Linked DNA regions of Homo sapiens: regions 1 and 2 are each linked to region 3. Evidence: promoter capture Hi-C in human tissues and cell types (Jung and others, 2019). All regions are on one chromosome and are shown on one strand. The core of a region is centred on a gene start or on the middle of the fragment in contact, and the rest is flanking DNA. Distances in the headings are between cores, read along the strand shown.

Evidence for each region. Contacts are between HindIII fragments. The study calls those that stand out against the background at their distance.
Region 1: a fragment that was not itself captured here is called in contact with the fragment with the promoter of HELZ in region 3 in 1 of the 25 tissues and cell types used here (H1 embryonic stem cells).
Region 2: a contact is called between a fragment that was not itself captured here and the fragment with the promoter of HELZ in region 3, in 1 of the 25 tissues and cell types used here (IMR-90 fibroblasts).

Annotation. Positions count from the first base shown.
Region 1 is chr17:67,642,740-67,645,511 of GRCh38, forward strand. The region is part of intron 6 of PITPNC1 (phosphatidylinositol transfer protein cytoplasmic 1); the gene reads left to right. Among named protein-coding and RNA genes, the nearest start is that of NOL11, 74 kb to the right of the region's middle. The HindIII fragment of the contact is 6,354 bases long and covers 1-2,772 here.
Region 2 is chr17:67,602,854-67,605,714 of GRCh38, forward strand. The region is part of intron 5 of PITPNC1 (phosphatidylinositol transfer protein cytoplasmic 1); the gene reads left to right. Among named protein-coding and RNA genes, the nearest start is that of NOL11, 110 kb to the right of the region's middle. RefSeq lists an enhancer at 28-537. The HindIII fragment of the contact is 5,937 bases long and covers 1-2,861 here.
Region 3 is chr17:67,243,575-67,246,562 of GRCh38, forward strand. It overlaps HELZ (helicase with zinc finger), which reads right to left and starts at 1,622. Exons shown (of 33, transcript NM_014877.4): 1 at 1,574-1,622; 2 at 210-265. It overlaps HELZ-AS1 (HELZ antisense RNA 1), which reads left to right and starts at 1,202. Exons shown (of 4, transcript NR_136398.1): 1 at 1,202-1,634. RefSeq lists enhancers at 846-1,833, 1,834-2,820 and silencers at 1,150-1,199, 1,300-1,789, 2,340-2,429, 2,440-2,639. The HindIII fragment of the contact is 25,130 bases long and covers 1-2,988 here.

The DNA.
Region 1 (2,772 bases), core at 219-2,718, 400 kb after region 3:
AATAATGCGAAGCTACCTCAGCATTTGGATCAAACCCCATTTTTACTGGGATTACTACAAAAAATGATAGTGCCCAACTTCATCCTAGAGAAAGAGTTTTCATTTTTTTTTTTAATTTTTCAAGGGGAAAAAAACCATTTAAACTGCTGCAGTAATTGGCATGAATGATGTTCCCCAGAACTCAGTGTTCAGAGCAGCAGTTGCAAATCCTACCAATTGAATTTGGTAGTGAAATGCCAGACCAAGTAGGTCAAACAAAATCAAGGCATATGAATTCCTAAATGCCAGATCAAAAGCAGAGAATCTAAGTCTCTGCCAGGAGTGCAGTTGCTGATTGTGGCATTGTGGGTCATTGAATCAATAGAAAGAGCCCTTGGGGGCCAGGTGCAGTGGCTCACGCCTGTAATCCCAGCACTTTGGGACGCCAAGGCAGGCAGATCACTTGAGGTCAGGAGTTCGAGACCATGGCAAAACCCTGTCTACTAAAAATACGAAAATTAGCTGGGCATGGCGGCACGCACCTGTAGTCCTAGGTACTAGGGAGGCTGAGGCACGAGAATTGCTTGAATCCGGGAGGCGGAGGTGGCAGTGAGCTGAGATCGCGCCACTGCACTCCAGCCTGGACAACAGAGTGAGACTTTGTCTCAAAAAAGAAAGAAAGAAAGAACCCTTGGGGAAATCACCCTATCACCCTATATCCCAAAAGGAACAGACCAGGGAGGGAAGAATTCATCCAAGCAAAACATTCATGGAAGGGAGAAACAGTTGGGCTTTTCATAGAGGGATCTGTGCAAAAGATAACCCCTAGAACCTATGAATTGGGATTCCCAACTTGTGTGCTCTGTGTCTAGATGATTCAGCCCTAATGTGGTGAGGGCCCTGGCTCTGGGAGCCTCCCAGGCGGTCACAGCCACTGCATTTGATCATCATCAATTCTGTGTCTGAGTCCCTCCCTCCCTTCCAAAGAATGGACAGATGGACAGATGGGATGGAGAAGTGAGATGACGTCAAAGGCAAGGCATGGAAAGTGACCAGCACAGTCCCTGGCACACAGTAAGCATTTCATAAGTGTTCCCTTCTCTCTGCTTTGACCCTGGCTTCGAGCTCTGCAGATGGGTTGCAGGAATGGTGGCTCCGTGGAAACCATGTGTCTTTGGAAAGTGGCCACCGTGAGTGGCGTCACAGGAGTTTGTTTGCGTGTCGCTTTTCCCTTGTCGGTGTGAGTGGAGAACAGGAGCAGAGGTGTGATACCAATAGCTCCAGCTCTCAGGATCATGGGATCCTCCGCCGGCTCAGCAAGATCCTGCAGAAGTTACAGCCATTTGTGCTGCTGAGACTTTTCAAAAAAAATGTGTTATTGCCTCTGTTATGGTTTAACCTGAATTCCGGATGGCACGTGTCTCTGCTACTTCACCTCGAAGAAACCTTAGAAGTTACATTTGCTGTTTGTTTTGTGCCAAGTCTGGGCCATCTGTGGCACTGCAGTGCCGGGATGGTACCCAAGGCAGTATTGCCATGCTATCTCTGTCTGCCACGAGCCTTCTTACAGCTGTACTATAGAAAACTAACATTTAAGACTTTCAAAGAAGGAAGCAAGAGCTGAAGGGCCCAAGGCTCTCAGCCAGGAGTGAACAGATACAACAAGCTCTTCTTCAGTTCCATCTCATGGAGAACTTCCCTCTGTAATTTTTTTTTTTTTTTTTTTTTTTTTTTGAGACAGAGTCTCACTCTGTCACCCAGGCTGGAGGGCAGTGTCACAATTTCAGCTCACTGCAACCTCTGCCTCCTGGGTTCAAGCGATTCTCCTGCCTCAGCCTCCTGAGTAGCTGGGACTACAGGTGCACGCCACCACGCCCAGCTAATTTTTGTATTTTTAGTAGAGACAGGGTTTCACCACGTTGGTCAGGCTGCTCTCGAACTCCTGACTTCAGGTGATCCACTCGCCAAAGTGCTGGGATTACAGGCGTGAGCCAATGCACCTGGCCCTGCTCTGTTCTTTCAAGAAAACAGGCAATGAGTCCACACAAGTTGCTCATAACTGGGGCCAGCCACATCAGCCCCTGCTGTTTTTAGTCTTATTAAAGTAAAACACCAGAACTTCTTGGCCCTTAGAACAGAGTTCCCAAATCAGGTCAGCATCACCCAGGGAGGTTTTGAAAACTGGAGATATCCGGGTCCCACCTTAGACCAACCCAACCAGACTCAACTGGTCTGGGACCCAAGAATCAGTGTGTAAATGCACCAGGTTTGGGAAAATGGCCTCAGAGCAGAGCTTCCCATCTTTTTTCATGCCTTGACAGGTAGGAAGTGTTTCGTTTTGGCCAGGCGCGGTGGCTCATGCCTGTAATCCCAGCACTTTGGGAGGCCGAGGCAGGCGGATCACCTGAGGTCGGGAGTTTGAGACCAGCCTGACCAACACGGAGAAACCGCATCTCTACTAAAAATACAAAAATCAGCCAGGCATGGTGGCGGGCACCTATAATCCCAGCTACTCGGGAGCCTGAGGCAGGAGAATCACTTGAACCCTGAAGGCGGAGGTTGCGGTGAGCCAAGATCGCGCCATTGCATTCCAGCCTGGGCAACAAGAGCGAAACTCCATCTCAGAAAAAAAAAAAAAAAAAAAGAGAAAGTGATTTGTTTTGATTGACACATTGAGGAGGAGCTCCTGGTTAAGATGACCAACCCCTGAGCTCAGAAGGCCCAGTCTGTTACTCAAGGGCTGCGGGAGCAATATGCCTTATCACATCTACTATCCATTCACCATAGGGAAGC
Region 2 (2,861 bases), core at 40-2,539, 360 kb after region 3:
AGTCTCCCAAGTAGCTGGAACTACAGGTGCATACCACCATGCCCAGCTAATTTTGATATTTTTTTTTTGTAGAGATGGGGTTTTGCCATGTTTCCCAGGCTGGTCTCCAACTCCTGGGCTCAAGTGATCCTCTTGCCTCACCCTCCCGTAGTGCTGGGATTACAAGCATGAGCTACCACACCAGGCCCCTGGGTCACCTCTTACACCAGAGCCAGTGGGTTCATTTGATCAATCTGAGCAGTACTCACAGGATTCAATTGTCTTCTCACACCTTTTCCCCAGGTTTCAAAGTCAGAGCCACTTGCTGACTTGAGTGATTATGGCAGGGCCCCATCTAATGGCCTTTTTGCAAAGTACAGCTGGAGCAAGCAGGCTCGCCTGTGCCCCTTTTCTCATCAAAAGCAAGGCAAAGAGGGTATAGATTAGACTAGCAGGCCCCGGCTAGGAAGTAACATCTTCAAGAGTAAGAAGTAATCATGATGGCAGCCATGTGGATATTGACTCATAATAATGGTGATGGTCAGACGGATATTGGCAGGAATATTTACATGAGCCCAGCATCTTGCCAACCTGTCTTTAGATAGCCACAGTCTCATGAAATCTTCACAGATATTAATATCCCCATTTTACAACTGACACTGAGGCTTAGTGAGAGCCAGCGGTCTGCACAGCCTCACAGCTAGCAAGTGTCAGATCTAGGACTCAATTCTAGGTTAGTTTAGCCTTGGAGCACGTGCTCTCATGTAACTAATCTGCTGTCTTTGGCTCTAAAAATGAAATAAGACTGTAGGTAGAGCCAGGCGCGGTGGCTCACACCTGTAATCCCAACACTTTGGGAGGCTGAGGCGGACGAATCATTTGAGGTCAGGAGTTTGAGACCAGCCTGGCCAACAAGGTGAAACCCTGTCTCTACTAAAAATACAAAAATTAGCTGGGCTTGGTGGTGCATGCTTGTAATCCCAGCTGCTTGGGAGGCTGAGGCAGGAGAATCACTTGAACCAGGGAGGCAGAGGCTGCAGTAAGCCAAGATCCAAGATGGTGCCACTGCTCCAACCTGGGCAACAGAACGAGACTCTGTCTCATAGATTTAAAAAAAAAAAAAAAACTGTACATGGAGTCAGCTGCTCTAAAGTCTGGTTGAAAGTTTAAATTTTCACAGTGAGGAAAGGGAAATAAGTCACTCCCATCTTAAAGAAGCATTGTCAAAGGAATATTTTTCTCCTTCCAAGTTTTACAGGGAGGCAAATATTCTGAAAGGAATTATCGTGGTAATAACATCCCTTACCTGATTTTTTTCAAAAACTTTTATTACTAGGAATTTTCTCAGATGTAATGCCATATAATGGGTGTTTATCAACTGGAATAGTGAGGGAAAATGGCTTTCCAGCCATGTGTCTAGTTTTTACACATCTTCAGACATGGATGGAAGGCAGAGCTGGGTTGCCTCAATTCTGGGTCAAGTCAGCTTCCCCTGGATTAGAAGGGGAGGCTGGTAGGCTAATAGCAGGATGCTGGTGACATATGAAGGAGGGGTTGTTTCTTATGAAAGCAGATTCTCAGAGAAAGAGGATCTGCGTAGGAACACCAGAGAGATTGGCCTCAAAGACCCAAAAGCAAAAGAAATAAGTTAAAAATAAAACAGTCCTAGGCCAGGCACGGTCACTCACGCCTGTAATCCCAACACTTTGGGAGGCCCAGGCGGGTGGATAGCTTGAGGTCAGGAGTTCGAGACCAGCCTTGCCAACATGGTGAAACCCCATTTTTACTGAAAATACAAAAATTAGCCAGGCGTGAAAGCATGTACCTGTAGTCCCAGCTACTTGGGAAGCTGAGGCACAAGAATCACTTGAACCCAGGAGGCGGAGGTTGCAGTGTGCTGAGAACTTGCCACTGCACTCCAGCCTGGACAACAGAGTGAGACTCCCTCTCCAAAAAAAATTAAAATATGACTGGGCATGGCTCACATCTGTAATCCCAGCACTTTGGGAGGCTGAGGCGGACGGATCACCTGAGGCCAGGAGTTTGAGACCAGCCTGGCCAACATCATGAAGCCCCATCTCTACTAAAAATAAAAAATTAGCTGGGTGCGTTGGGATGCGCCTGTAGTCCCAGTTACTCAGGAGGCTGAGGCAGGAGAATCGTTTGAAACCGGGAAGCAGAGGTTGCAGTGAGCCGAAATCGCGCCATTGCACTCCAGCCAGGGCAACAGGGTGAGATTCTGTCTCAAAATAAAATAAAATAAAACAAAACAATAAAATAAAATAAAACAAGGCTAATGATAAACCCAGGGGCTCCTTGGCAGGAGCAAAGCTGAACCGAGAGCTCTATTCCTAGAGCCCTATGTCTGAATAATTTATTTTTCCTATCTCATAGTCCCTATGTGCCTTCCTCAGCTGAGATCAAGTGCCAAAGGACATCTCAAAATACCCACAGCCAAAACTTCTCAGCATAGCTCCCTGCATGGAGAAGGAGACAGCTCTGCAAGTCTTTGTCCTGAACCGTTTACGGATTTTCCATGGTCTGCAAGACCTTGGACTCACGCCGCCTGCCAGCTGGCAGCCGCTGTCCAGCCTGGGAACAGAGCTTGCTCCGGCCTGTGGCGAGTCCTCCCGGGGCTTATCGTGAATTTCCCCGGTTTTGCATCTTCATCCTGAAAACCTCCCGACCTTTCCTTAATGAAGATTTTAGCTGGGGGAAATTGCATTAGTGGCTCGTGTTTTTCTGTCAACCTTCTAAATTATGTTAGTTGTAAGTAAAAAGAGTACAGTAAGTCCTTTTATCCGTTGTGGGCTGTTCCTGGGAATCATAATGGACAATAAAATAATAAGTAATGGACAGGAAGATGCTCTTAGAACCAGTTC
Region 3 (2,988 bases), core at 372-2,871:
GTTTGAGTATGTTGGAGCAACTGAAAAGATTGGTACATTCAACATATTTTTCCTTTCTAAATCTAGCCCTGCCCATAGACCCACTGACTGAGTGATACATTTGGAAAACAAAGATGGCCCCATCAAATTACTCAGTTTCAGCCTTACTCTTACCAGTTGATTAAAATAAAGAAGGAAAAAAAGGAAATCATTTTTAACTGCAGTCTCACCTTACACATCTCACCAGCACTGTAGTTCATTAGTGATCCATTACTTCATCCAAATCCTGAGGCAAATAGAAAAGATGTTTCCATACAACACCAGTAACAGACATTATCAGTAGCAAACATTTTATCAGCCTGAAGTGAAAGGGCATCTACATTTAAAATGGAAAAAGTTACAAAAATGGTACAGTGTGCAGCTTTGCAAATGAGTCTGGTTTTTGACCTTAAAACATTTCCTTTCAGTAAGGTAAAAGAATAGATTATACAATGCTCTTAAAACTCAAAAACATAATAAAATCATCTTTTTCAACACAGACTGACCTTACTTTCAAAAACATAAAGAAATGAAGGAGAGGAAATTTCATTAATATGAGTTTAAGAGAGAGCAAAATTAAGAACAAACTAGGCAAGACAGACAACTCCTCCCTCCTTCCCCCGCTCCAGGAATCCACTGTCTCTGAAGTTACACTTTTTATTATATTAATGATTTGCCTGAGAAGTGTTAAGTTGTGAGGGAGAAGGAATGACAATTTTTGAACTGCAAACAAAACCTGAGGATCCCGATCCAAGAACAATCAGAGGACCCTGGCTTCCAGCCCTGTCTGAAGATTTCTCAGCAAAGGCGAGGGTGCAGAAGGCTCCAATAATTTAGGGGAGAGGAATCGAAGTTCCCTAGGTAAGACTGCAGTCTGTGAGCCCTTGAAAAGGGTACTGGAGTACTCTCAAGGAATCTCCAGGAAAAGAGAGCCTATCTTTATTTTTGTTGATGTGCTTGTGGGCCAAAGAGCATTTCCGAGGAGGGGGCGGGGAAAGGGGGGAAGAAAGTGAATCTCGGGCCGAGAGCCCTCCGCGGGGGAGGGAGGGGGCGCACGCCTGACCCACTTTTCCCCACGCCCCCGCTCCAGCCCCCACCCCACCCGGTGGAAGTCCGAGGCCTGAGGGGGGGCATCGAGCGGGGCGTGGGAGGCCCGCACGCTCCCCACCCCCAGCCGCGACCCGGAGGAGGGGAACGTGCCGGGAGGCTCGAGTCCCCCTCCCAGAGTGCTCTGGGCCGGAGAAACCTCCCGCAGGCTCCCGGGCCAGGCGTGCAAGGCCCCCTCTCCTGCCAGGGCCCAGGACGCTGCGGGCCCCAGCGGAGGGGAAGGGGACTAAGTAGGGGAAGAAGCTGTAAACAGCCCCAGCGTCCGGGCCTCGCCTCGAAGAGCCGCGCTTCCCAGGCCCAGCCGCGGGCCGCCCAGGCCCCCAGCCTGCCCCGGGGCCGCCGCGCCCGGGGTCCGGGACACCGGAGGGGAGTCGGGTCCCCTCCCCGGAGAGCTCCGGGAGCTCGCGGAGCGGCCCCAGGAGCAGAGAAGGGGGAAGTCAGGACTTACCTGTCATTACTTTCTACGCCATCTTGGATCCACTTGTCAACGTCCCCACAAAGCATTATGGGTAAGAAAGAGCCTTTAAAGTGACTCCCCCCGGCCCCCGACTCCCGCCTCCCGCCGCCGGCGCCGCCCCCTCCGGCCGCGCCTCCCGCCCGGAAAGTTGCCCCGGGTGGACTGCCGACCCCGGCGCCCGCAGCTGGCCCCTTCCCCTCCCCCGGGCTGACGGCATTGAAAATTCACCCGCATTTTTAAAACGTGGCTTTGGGGTTTTCTCCCTTTCTCCTGCCCCGGCCTCCCTGCCCCCACGCCCGGTCCTCTCGCCTCGCCGCGTTCCTGCCCGGGCAGACGCCCCGCGTCTGCATTGAATCAACCCGAGGTTTCCTTGCCGCCCGCGGCGCGGCGCGGAGCTGCTCGCGGATTTATTTGTGCGCGTGGATGTGAGCGTTTCTGCTCCTGCGGCCGCGCTTCCAGGAAGCCCGCGAGCGGCCGGGGTCGCCTTCAGAGGCCGCGCAGACCAGCTCCGCACCCGCCGCCCGGAGAGGTGCCTCTGCCCTGGGAAACCGCCCCGGGGCCGTTGGGCTCCGGGAACTGGGAGGACGCCGTGTCCCCGAGTCCACCAGCGTCGAAGCACGATTTAAAAAAAAAAATTGAGCCAAATGCAACTTTTTACCCCTTGTTTACTCTGTGTCCCGCGGTCTCCTCCTCCGGGCGGGTAACGTGATCCGCGACCCTCTAGGTGGGGACCCCTCCCCTAGGAATGTGGCTCCAGGCTCCGCGGAGCCACCCTGGGAGCGTCCGGGCTGCGGACTGTGACTCCGGGGCAGGTAATCCGGGGCGCCGGCTGCGGGCTCCGGGCGGGGCGGGGCGCGGAGGCAGCCAGGGCTCGGGGGAGGGTCCCGGGCGGAAAGCAGGGTGCGCCAGTCCGGGTCCACCTGGCGGGTCGGGGGAGAACCGCGGGCGCCGCTGCAGCTCGGGAGGCTGGAGGTGGGGACGCCCGGCGTCTCCGGGCTGCGACCCGCTGCGCTGGAAAGTGTGGGGCGCCTTGGCGCGGGCTGAGGTCTCTGACCCGGGCGAGTACCCCCAGCCCGCCGGCCACACTGCTGCCGGGCATCCTCTCCCCGCGACACCACGCCCGCTTTCGGCTGCGCGGGGCGAGCAGCGTACTGACCCCGGCGTCCAGCCGCCCAGGTCCCCCCAGCAACGGAGGCCCCTTGGTCAGCCTCCTCCCGCGCTCTCCGCAGAGCCTCTGGTCCCTGCTTTGCTGTCTTTGGAGGCCTGCTCCAGTTGCTTTTTTTTTTTTCCAAGCAAGTTTTTACAACAAGGAGATACCCAAAAGAAAATTCTCCAAGACAGGAATGCTTGCGAATTGTATTCGGTACAAAATGCTGTTGAACGGCTCTACCTTTAGAAGACCGCAG